Linked DNA regions of Homo sapiens: region 2 is linked to region 1. The links are contacts of gene promoters, found by promoter capture Hi-C in blood cells and fetal thymus (Javierre and others, 2016). All regions are on one chromosome and are shown on one strand. Each heading gives the region's core, a stretch centred on a gene start or on the middle of the fragment in contact. The rest is flanking DNA. Distances are from core to core; before and after follow the strand shown. Region 1 holds the start of PCK2 (phosphoenolpyruvate carboxykinase 2, mitochondrial). Region 2 overlaps LTB4R (leukotriene B4 receptor).

Region 1 (4,734 bases), core at 1,064-3,563:
TATACATGTAGGCATGCTGATGTTACTGCCTGTGTAGCCCATGCCCATGTTTAACTGTTTAATCAACGTTTAGAAATAAGTAGGGAGATGGCTGGGCACGGTGGCTCATGCCTGTAATCCCAGCACTTTGGGAGGCTGAGGCAGGTGGATCATGAGGTCAGGAGATCAAGACCATACTGGGCAACATGGTGAAACCCCATCTACTAAAAATATAAAAATTAGCCGGATGTGGTGGCGTGTGCCTCTAGTCCCAGCTACTCAGGAGGCTGAGGCAGGAGAATCGCTTGAACCCGGGAGGTGGAGGTTGCAGTGAGCCGAGATCGGGACACTGCACTCCAACCTGGGCGACAGAGCAAGACTCTGTCTCAAAAAAAAAAAAAAAAAAAAAAAAAAAAGAAATGAGTAGGGGCCTTTGGCCCAAGTGTCAAGACAAGAAGTTGGGCCCAGGTGACAATTTCATATGTCTGGTATTTGAAGCCTCATCCATTTTATTTCCATTTTCAAGTATAGTTTTTTATAAATTAAAATGGCAGCTGTGTTTATTCTTTCCTTCTGGTGTGTATGCTGTAAGACTATGAAAGCCCCAAGCAAAGGTCACAGTCTTTCCAGTGCCAGGTTTCTAGATGAGGGCTCTTGCACAGAGAATAGGTGACTGGATGCTGGGCTTCCAGGCCCTGATCTGCTGCTGCCCACTTGGACCAACAATGGTTGCATAAAATGTTGCCCTCGGGTAAGTATTTCTGAACTCTGCGGAAGGTTGACCACTGGGGAATGAGTGTCACTGGCTGGGGTTCATGGGCTTAATTCTCAGGAGGTCAGCGTCCTGTTGTCTGTCCTCTCATGGCCCTGGGAGACAGAGAAGCAACGTCTGCTCTGATTGGCCTGGACTCAAGGTGGAGTAAACCCGAGAGAGCAAAGACCATGAAGGGGATGTTACTCTCCTCCTCTATCAAGGCCTCGCCCATCAGAAACTGCCCCCACACCCAGGACCACGTGACCCCGTGCTTCCCCTGGCTCTTCTTCCTAGAGGCCACATGCCTAGAGAGCTTTGGTGTTGGTGGGAGGGTGGAACAGCAGCTTGCTGGCAGCTCAGACTCAGAGGGTGTTAGCCTGGGGAAGGAAGAAAGCTCAGAGCATGGATACGGGAGCTTGAGTCTGTCTGGGGTAGAAGCTGGGGTGGTTTCCGCTAAAGCAGGATAGATGATCAGTGTGGCCCCAGGGGCAGGGGAGGAGGGCTACTGGGACCTGGGTCTGTTCCTGCCTCAGAGGGAAGTTCTCCGTGAGCATCAGTTTTCAAGCACACAGTCTTGAGGACAGCCTCTCTCTCCCTGGAGCCTGGCTCACGTTATCTCTTGTGAAGCCCCCACACCCTCTTGCAGCCCTCTAAGTGGGACGTTTCCTTCAGAGACCACCCACAAGGGCTGCCCAAGTGGAACGGGCTGTGCGACAGATGTGGGTCACTTCCGACTCTGGGACAAAAGCTGAGAAGAGAGGCCTCAGAGAATAAATAGGAGACTAAGAGGACAGGCAGACAAACAGGACGAGCCTGGGGGCTCCAGGCCTGGACGGAGGAAGAAGCCAGCTATGTAAGAAACGAAGGCAACTTGGCGCCCTCCTCCCACCTTGCTTGCCTCCCTCCCCTGGGCCCAGGTCCCTCGGGCTGCTCTGGACTTCCCGCCAGGTTCCAGTCCTTCCAGTCCGGGAGAGGCCGGGAATGGATATTTAACCTTCCACCTTCTTTAGGGGGCTCTGAGCTTAGTCTCCCGGGGCTCACGTACCCTTGTCCCCAGGGCCCTGCTGCCTCTCGAAGTACCCTGGGGCGCTGGCTGAGAGCCCGTTAGAGGTCCGAGGGAGGTATCTGGGAAGGAAAGGAGGATATGCGGAGACCTGGCTCAGCAGAGAGGAGCGAGGAGAGAGAGGAAGTTCTGAGAGTGGCAGATAGAGATCGCGCGGTCAGAGGCGAGCGAGGCAGAGAAGGGGAGGTGCAGGCGGAAACGAGGAGCACCGGCCGGCTGCCCTCCCAAGAGACGCGCGGCGCGGGAGGCTGGACCCACAGCAGTCGCCCCTGCCCGCCTCCGCCTAGGATGGGAAACCTGGCGGAGGCTGAGAGCAGGAGAGCGCCACTGGCAGCCCCGAGGGGGCGAGCGCAGCGGAAGGTGCGGGTGGGCCCCGGGCCGGGGGTCACTCACCGCAGGCCAGGGCGGTACAATGCGGCCATGGCACCTGGGCAGGGGCTGCGGGGTGGCCAGGAACCGAGCGGAGCCGGGGAGGTATGGAAGGCGGGGAAGGAGGGAGCGCGGCGAAGCGAGCCACAGCAGAGGCTGGCGGGAGGCGCTTAAAAAGGAGGGGGGCAGGCGCGGGGGCGGAACCTGGTAGGGCTGGCACTAGCTTTCCTCCGCCCCGCTGGCAGGCCAGCTCCCTCGGCCCCGGGGCTCCAGGCTCCAGGTCAGCCCAGCCGCCGCCCCAACCCCTGCCTCCAAACCGCCAAACCCATCTCTCCCATTGGAGGACTGGGTCCACTCTTCGGCCCCCGACTTCGAGGCCCCGCCCCCCATCCGCCACCGCCCTCCCAGCCGCACATGATGTAACTTTGAGGACTCTTGCTCCCGGGAGAGACACTAGGTGGCAAACAAGCTAGGAACGAGGGGCGAGGCCAGGGGCGGGAGACTACAGGGGCCAGACGTCTAGAAGTTAGGGGGTTGGGCATTGCCTTTCCAGTTCCTCCTCCTGGGGACGCGACACCCTGAGTCCTGGGCCTTTCTGTAGTCCAAGTGCCCAATGCTAAGGTCCACTTAGTCCCCAACTCCTAAATCCCCGTTTCTCCTCCTGATCAAGGCTCCTTTCTGCCTTGCCATGAAATGGTGGAGTCTCTCTACCCCTGGGTCTCTTCCTTGGTCCTCTGATCTGGTCATTCTCCTCCCCCGGCACATCCCCTCTTCCCCTGACGGAGTCTTACTCTGTCACCCAGGCTGGAGTGCGTGCAGTGGCGCGATCTCGGCTCACTGCACACTCCGCCTCCCGGGTTCAAGCAATTCTCCTGTCTCAACCTGCAGAGTAGCTGGAATTACAGGCGCCTGCCACCACACTCGGCTGATTTTTTGTATTTTTTGTAAAGACGGGGTTTCTCCATGCTGGCCAAGCTGGTCTCCAACTCCTGACCTCGTGATCCGCCTGCCTTGGCCTCCCAAAGTGCTGGAATTTACAGGCGTGAGCCACCACGCCCGGCCTGGTCATTCTTTCTCTCCACAATCCAATGAGGAAACTCATCTGCCCACCCAACTACCATCATAAAGTCCTCAGGTGATTTCTCAAGCTATACCTCCATTGGGACATCTCTCTCCAACCTGAGACCACTGGATATCACCCACAATGCTATATAGCACCTCAAACTCAGCATATCTATGATGGGTGTCTGCTCAGCATCCACTCGCCTTTTCTGGTAATAGCACCCTGATTTTCTTTTGGGGAACCATCTCCTCAGTCTGTATTGTCATGTGGGTCTGATGTCACCCCTCTTGGGGGTAGGCTTGCAGCTTAGCCAACTTTTGTGTTCCTCACTCTGGCCACAGCAATCAAGGATGTTCAAGGATGGGCATGAGATCCCTCTCTGGGACTTTTTCTAAAACTTTGGAAGTTAGCTCTCTTTCTGCTGAGTTGCTGAGCTGGTAGAATATAAGCCTGGAGCTGCTGAGTGTTAGCTTGGCACTGCAAAGCAGGAACCTGGCTGAGACAGAAGCCAGCCTAGAGGAAGCAGAGCAGGGAGATGGCGAGCAATGGATTCCTGATTTCAGTTACAGGAATTGATGCATTTCTTCTCTTGCTCAAGCTAATTTTAATTGGAGTTCTGCCACTTGCAACAGAAACAGTCTTGATTCTCAGATTTCTTGGAGTTCTATGCTGGAACATAGTGGGATAAGGAGAGCTGGTCTCCAGCCACGGGCTTGCTACTGGTCCCCGTCTCTTCCCCCTCAGGCTCTAGCCTACACTCAACCTCAGGTATATGTATTTGGATCTCTTTCCCCCCAGTTCATAGATCCAAACTCTGTCCACACTTACCCAGCTGCAAACACATACCTCTTGGCCAACCTTTGGGCCTAAAGGTGTGCACACTGGTGGCAGCATGGTTGACCTGAAGGTCATCATCTTCTCCATAATCCTGCACCTGCTCTCATGGTTTCCTACCTCAGCAAATGGCACCATCATCTGGCCAGTTGCCCCAAAGGGAATCAGTCTAGACTATTCTTATCCTGCATAGCTAATCAGATGCCAGGACCTTTGGAATTGTACTTCTCAATTAGCCCTCAAGTCTGCAACTATCCCCATGGCCAGGGCCTTAGTTCAGGGCTTATCTCTCACCTGGCTTCAGGTGATAGCTTCTAAGGCACTTCTTGGACTCCTGCCTCTCCAAACACCAACCCCTCTCCCTACCAAGCCACTCCCCACACTGTGCATGCAAATCCACTTGGAAAGTTAAGAGAGAAGAATAATGTTTATGCTATGGACAGTAGGTGCCAGGCTCTGTGTCAGCAACTCTGCATGCATAATCTCATTCTGTTTCACAACTATATTTTACATATGTGGACACGGGCTTAAAGAGTCATTTGCTCGGTCACCCTAAGGGAAGAATCAAGGAAAAAGGGAGGCAGGACCCCAGAAGTATGCCAACATATAACACCCTAAATCAAAGGTCAAATGCCGCACTTGACCTCCAAGATGCCTGCTTGGGCCTCTTCC
Region 2 (4,734 bases), core at 1,143-3,642, 220 kb before region 1:
ACATGACACACACCCCTCACTCCAGTCTCCTGTTCCCCCAGGATCTCTACCACCAGTCCTATGAATGCGTTTGTGTCCTCTTCGCCTCAGTCCCAGACTTCAAGGAGTTCTACTCTGAATCCAACATCAATCATGAGGGCCTAGAGTGTCTGAGGCTGCTCAATGAGATAATTGCTGATTTTGATGAGGTGAAAATTCCAAGAGTCTCCCAGACCCTATGTCCTAGATTCTAGAATTTTCCACCAGTACCTCCTTCCACTTTGCTTTTCTGGCCATGAAGTCAATCCTCCCCTCCACAGTACTCCCTCACCTCCTCTGATCCCCCAGATCTACCCACTCCAGCAACACTGCCCACCACCAACCCTCTCCTTCCTGACACTATCTCCACTCCCACAGCCTGATCCTTTAACTCCAAAGGCTTGGGGCTGGGCTTCTGGGAGAGGTGATGGAGAGAGTAAGAGAGACTGGGGACAGGACTCTTCTCTATATACAGCTGCTCTCCAAGCCCAAGTTCAGTGGGGTGGAGAAGATCAAGACCATCGGCAGCACCTACATGGCAGCCACAGGCTTAAATGCCACCTCTGGACAGGATGCACAACAGGTACGGCAACCCTTCCTTACCTACCATCCTCCTCTGGGCTCTCATTGATGGGCTTATTAGTGGGACTTATTCCTGTGCCCTCACTGGCCCACCCTGGTGGGCGGGCCCATTGCCAGGATGCTGAACGGAGCTGCAGCCACCTTGGCACTATGGTGGAATTTGCCGTGGCCCTGGGGTCTAAGCTGGACGTCATCAACAAGCATTCATTCAACAACTTCCGCCTGCGAGTGGGTGAGAGACTTCCCCTGCTGCAGCAGTCTGGTACCTCCTCACCTTCCTGAGCTTGCCCCACTCCAAGTCCTTTGTTAGCTGCTCCCAGTTCATCCTGAAGCCCCTTTCCTGACTCACTCCCTGGGATGGGGTGTGAAGGTGCTGGGCAAGGAGGTACGAGGCTCTCCCACTCTTTTTCTTAAGCTACATTCCTCCAGCCCTTAGAGACCCCTCCTCTCCTCTAGGGCCCCCCAGGCTCTTCTCCCTTCCTTCCAGTTCCTTGTGGCTTCCTCTTCCCCTCTTCCTTCTCCAAGTCTGTCATTACCACATCCCTCATTAGGGTTGAACCATGGACCCGTAGTAGCTGGAGTTATTGGGGCCCAGAAGCCGCAATATGACATTTGGGGCAACACAGTGAACGTGGCCAGCCGCATGGAGAGTACAGGAGTCCTTGGCAAAATCCAAGTGAGGGAACCACATTGGAGGCATAGGGGGAGGGGGACTAAGAATAGGGCCACCTCCATATTCCCTCGCCCCCCTCCAATTGTAGGTGACTGAGGAGACAGCATGGGCCCTACAGTCCCTGGGCTACACCTGCTACAGCCGGGGTGTCATCAAGGTGAAAGGCAAAGGGCAGCTCTGCACCTACTTCCTGAACACAGACTTGACACGAACTGGACCTCCTTCAGCTACCCTAGGCTGAGATTGCACTCGCCTTCTAAGAACCTCAATAAAGAGACTCTGGGGTGTCTGGAGCCCATTGATGTCTGAAGCTGCTGATATAGCTGGGGATCACCTTCTCATTGCCCTTCAGTGGGAATTCTTCTTCTTCCCAGGCCAATTTTAGTGCGAGTGTGTGTGTGAATGTGTGTGCACATGCCTGCACACATGCATGCATGTGAGACTAAGCATTTTGAAAGGGAGTGATTTTTTTCACAAGCTCAGGAAGAGAACTCCCTCAGCCTCTCTGCCAACTTGATTATAGTATTTTGTACACCTTGGAAGCATAAAGAATTTAGCCACATGACTCAAAACAAAAATTTGCCCTTTCCTGCCCCCTACTCAAAAATACCGGAAGAATCTCCAGGGAAATGTCATTTGAACTTTATTAATTCGACAAACACTAAATAAGTACCTATTATGTGCTCACCATACAGAATGGGCGAGAGGACTGGGAAATACTCCGTTAGGTCCCTCCCAGTTTCAGCTGCTGTTCTCAAATTGGTGCACCATACCTTCCAGTAAGGATCTGTAGACAGCTTGGGGATCTCCTCTTCTTAGGTCCATCCAACATCCCTTTGCTTCCTTCTGCATCCTTCTGCACAGATGCTGGTATATGGGTCTTGAGATATTGATGACTCATTCTCACTGGCTCATACTTTGGGGTCCATGGGAGTATGTCAAACCTTGACATACTAGATTTGTTGCGGATGTTGCATGTGGATATTTGGTTTCCCTCTCTTACTTGCTCTTTTGTTTTTTTATGAGAAAGATCCAAAAAGTACACTGCTGCCACTGTTGTTGCCATCTTCCTAAAACCTTGTCAGAACAGAGTTGGACCAAGGTTCTCTAAAACAACAGTCATCTCTAGGAAATAATGACTCATCCCTCTCACTTTTGGGAATCTTTGTTTCCTGGGGCCCTCAGCCCCACCCTGTGCCAGGGTGTGTTGTGGAGGTTAGCAGATGCTGATATGCAAAATTCTAAGGGATAAGATCTAATGACTTAGTCCTCAAGTCTGGCCTCTTTGTGAAATGGAGGGAAGGAAGGCATCCCCTAGAACATCTCCTATGGAGAGGACAAAGATTATTGGCAGGAAGTTGGAGTCATTCTAACAAGGAGACTTATCACAGGCTTCAAGGAAGATATTTCACAGCAGTGCTGTTTTCTCAGAAGGTCCCGGGTCACAGAACCTGGAGTGATAAGCCCACATGGGTGGTCTTCCTAGACAAGCTGCTTTAGGAGTCTGTAGACTGCGTTTTGCTAAGTATTATCTGCAGACTATGTACTCGGAATCATCTGGGATGGGGGAAGTCTATGTTTCTTTGTGTCCCTTCCAAAATTGTAAATCATGGGGAACTAAAGGACGTGACTCTCAACTACCGAGAGGGGCCCCACCAGGGCGCCCACGAGCACCCCGATACCCACAGCACATGTACCCCACTCACAAGGTTGACCAAATTTCAGACTTCAGTTTTAATGGTTAAAGCTGCCTGTGGGAGCCAGGCTGGAGCACGCTCTCACTCGGCCCTCACTTTGCTCCACCTCTCCCTCTTCTTCCACTCCACTCCCGCCTCCCACGCTCCCACGCCCTCCACGCCCTCCACGCCCCTGCTCCTCCTCCAGGTACTGAACTGGCTCAGAGCTAGCATTCTGCCAGGAGGAAAGTGCGCCTCCTTCCACCAGGCCTAGTTCAGTTCGTTTAACTTGAGAGGGCTGGAGGCAGTGAGGCTCTCGGAAGGGCCGGGCTCCAGAGCGGCGGGGCCGCTCCTAGCGGTCTGGCCCAGGCTGCCCCCGCGGCGCGTGCTGGACGCCTCGGAGCCCGTGCCCTCCAGCAGCTTGGCGACGAAGCCCACGCCCGCCGAGCGCAGCAGGCCGCCGCCGGCGCACGCGTACAGCACGGGGTTCACGCTGCTGCTCAGGAAGGCGAGTGCGATGAGCACGTTGCGGGCCAGGCTCAGCCGCTTCCCCACGAGCCCTAACCCGGCGGCCTGGCCGGCCAGCGCGCGGCCCGCCTCAGCCAGGTTCACCACGTGGTAGGGCAGCCAGAAGGCGGCGAAGGTCAGGATGATGAGCACCACCAGGCGGCCGGTGCGGCGGCTGCGGCGGAAGCGCCGGGCCTGTAGCCGACGCCCTATGTCCGAGTAGCTGGCCACCACAGCCAGGAAGGGCAGCAGGAAGCCCGTGACAGCCTCGAAGATTAGATGGAAGGCCCGGTGCCCTTCGCTGGGGTACCGCGGGAAGCACAGGCTCATGTTCGTTTTCCAGGGCACTACTGTGCGGTACGCGAGGACGGGTGTGGCCAGCAGAAAGGACAACACCCAGATGCCTGCCAGCACCCGCCGGGCCATCGCCTTGGTGCGTAGCTTCTGGGACACAAAGGGGCGGGCCACCGCCAGTGAGCGGTCTAGACTCATGGCCGTGATAAGCAGGACGCTGGCGTACATGCTGACTCCGCAGACATAGTGACACAGGCGGCAACCAGCCAGTCCAAAACTCCAGGTGCCTTGGGCCAGGAAGTGAAGGAAAAAGGGAGCAGTGAGCAATACGGCCAGGTCGGCCAGGGCCAGGTTCAGCACCATCAGGGCAGTGACAGAGCGCTTCTGCATCCTTTTCAGGATACTCCACACCACAAAGCTGTTGCCGGGAAGCCCCACAGCCAGCGCCACTGACAGCAGGATGATAGCCAGCAGAGAGATGAACTCTACACCTAGTGAGGGGGGTGCTGCAGAAGATGTAGTGTTCATGGCCGTCGGGAGGACCTGGAGAGTGAGGGCGGACACACGCATGAGAGTAGAGGACCAAGGGTTTCCTGACGCCATGGACACACCTAGGCTGAGAACTCTAGTCTATCTCCAGGGTCAGCAGCATCAGAGGTCCCCCTGAAATATACTGCCCCCATCGCTGCAGACTGACAACTTAAAGGGATCTGGTTGAGTACAAAGACTAGTTTCCTAACTGGGTCATGCGGCCCCTTCCTGTCCACAGACCCAATTGCAAAATATACAGTGACCACAGCAGCAGCAGCATTTCCAGACCTTTTCAGTCTCCTCCCCTTAGGAGACCCTAAAGCCCAGAACCAAACAGAGTTCCTACCAATGCTGCACCCCTTGAAAGGCCAGTCTTTTTGCCCCCTGCCAGGCCCTCAGCCCCTCAATCCCATTAACTTTCCCAATCACCTGCCTACTGTCCCCAGAGATGCC

The links. The method cuts DNA at HindIII sites, captures the fragments that hold promoters and counts their contacts. A CHiCAGO score of 5 or more calls a contact.
Region 2: a fragment that was not itself captured here is called in contact with the fragment with the promoter of PCK2 in region 1 in 2 of 17 cell types (total B cells and neutrophils); the score reaches 5.1 in total B cells.

Annotation. Positions count from the first base shown.
Region 1 is chr14:24,091,890-24,096,623 of GRCh38, reverse strand. It overlaps PCK2 (phosphoenolpyruvate carboxykinase 2, mitochondrial), which reads right to left and starts at 2,313. Exons shown (of 10, transcript NM_004563.4): 1 at 2,190-2,313. The coding sequence starts at 2,218. The region is part of intron 1 of NRL (neural retina leucine zipper); the gene reads left to right. RefSeq lists enhancers at 1,918-1,987, 1,641-2,290 and a silencer at 2,298-2,547. The HindIII fragment of the contact is 4,962 bases long and covers 1-4,734 here.
Region 2 is chr14:24,315,196-24,319,929 of GRCh38, reverse strand. LTB4R (leukotriene B4 receptor) reads right to left here. Exons shown (of 2, transcript NM_001143919.3): 2 at 1,894-4,293. The coding sequence starts at 4,278. The coding sequence ends at 3,220. ADCY4 (adenylate cyclase 4) reads left to right here. Exons shown (of 25, transcript NM_001198568.2): 21 at 42-188; 22 at 494-601; 23 at 718-832; 24 at 1,152-1,276; 25 at 1,362-1,571. The coding sequence ends at 1,514. Among named protein-coding and RNA genes, the nearest start is that of LTB4R, 6.1 kb to the right of the region's middle. RefSeq lists an enhancer at 3,350-3,850. The HindIII fragment of the contact is 5,052 bases long and covers 1-4,734 here.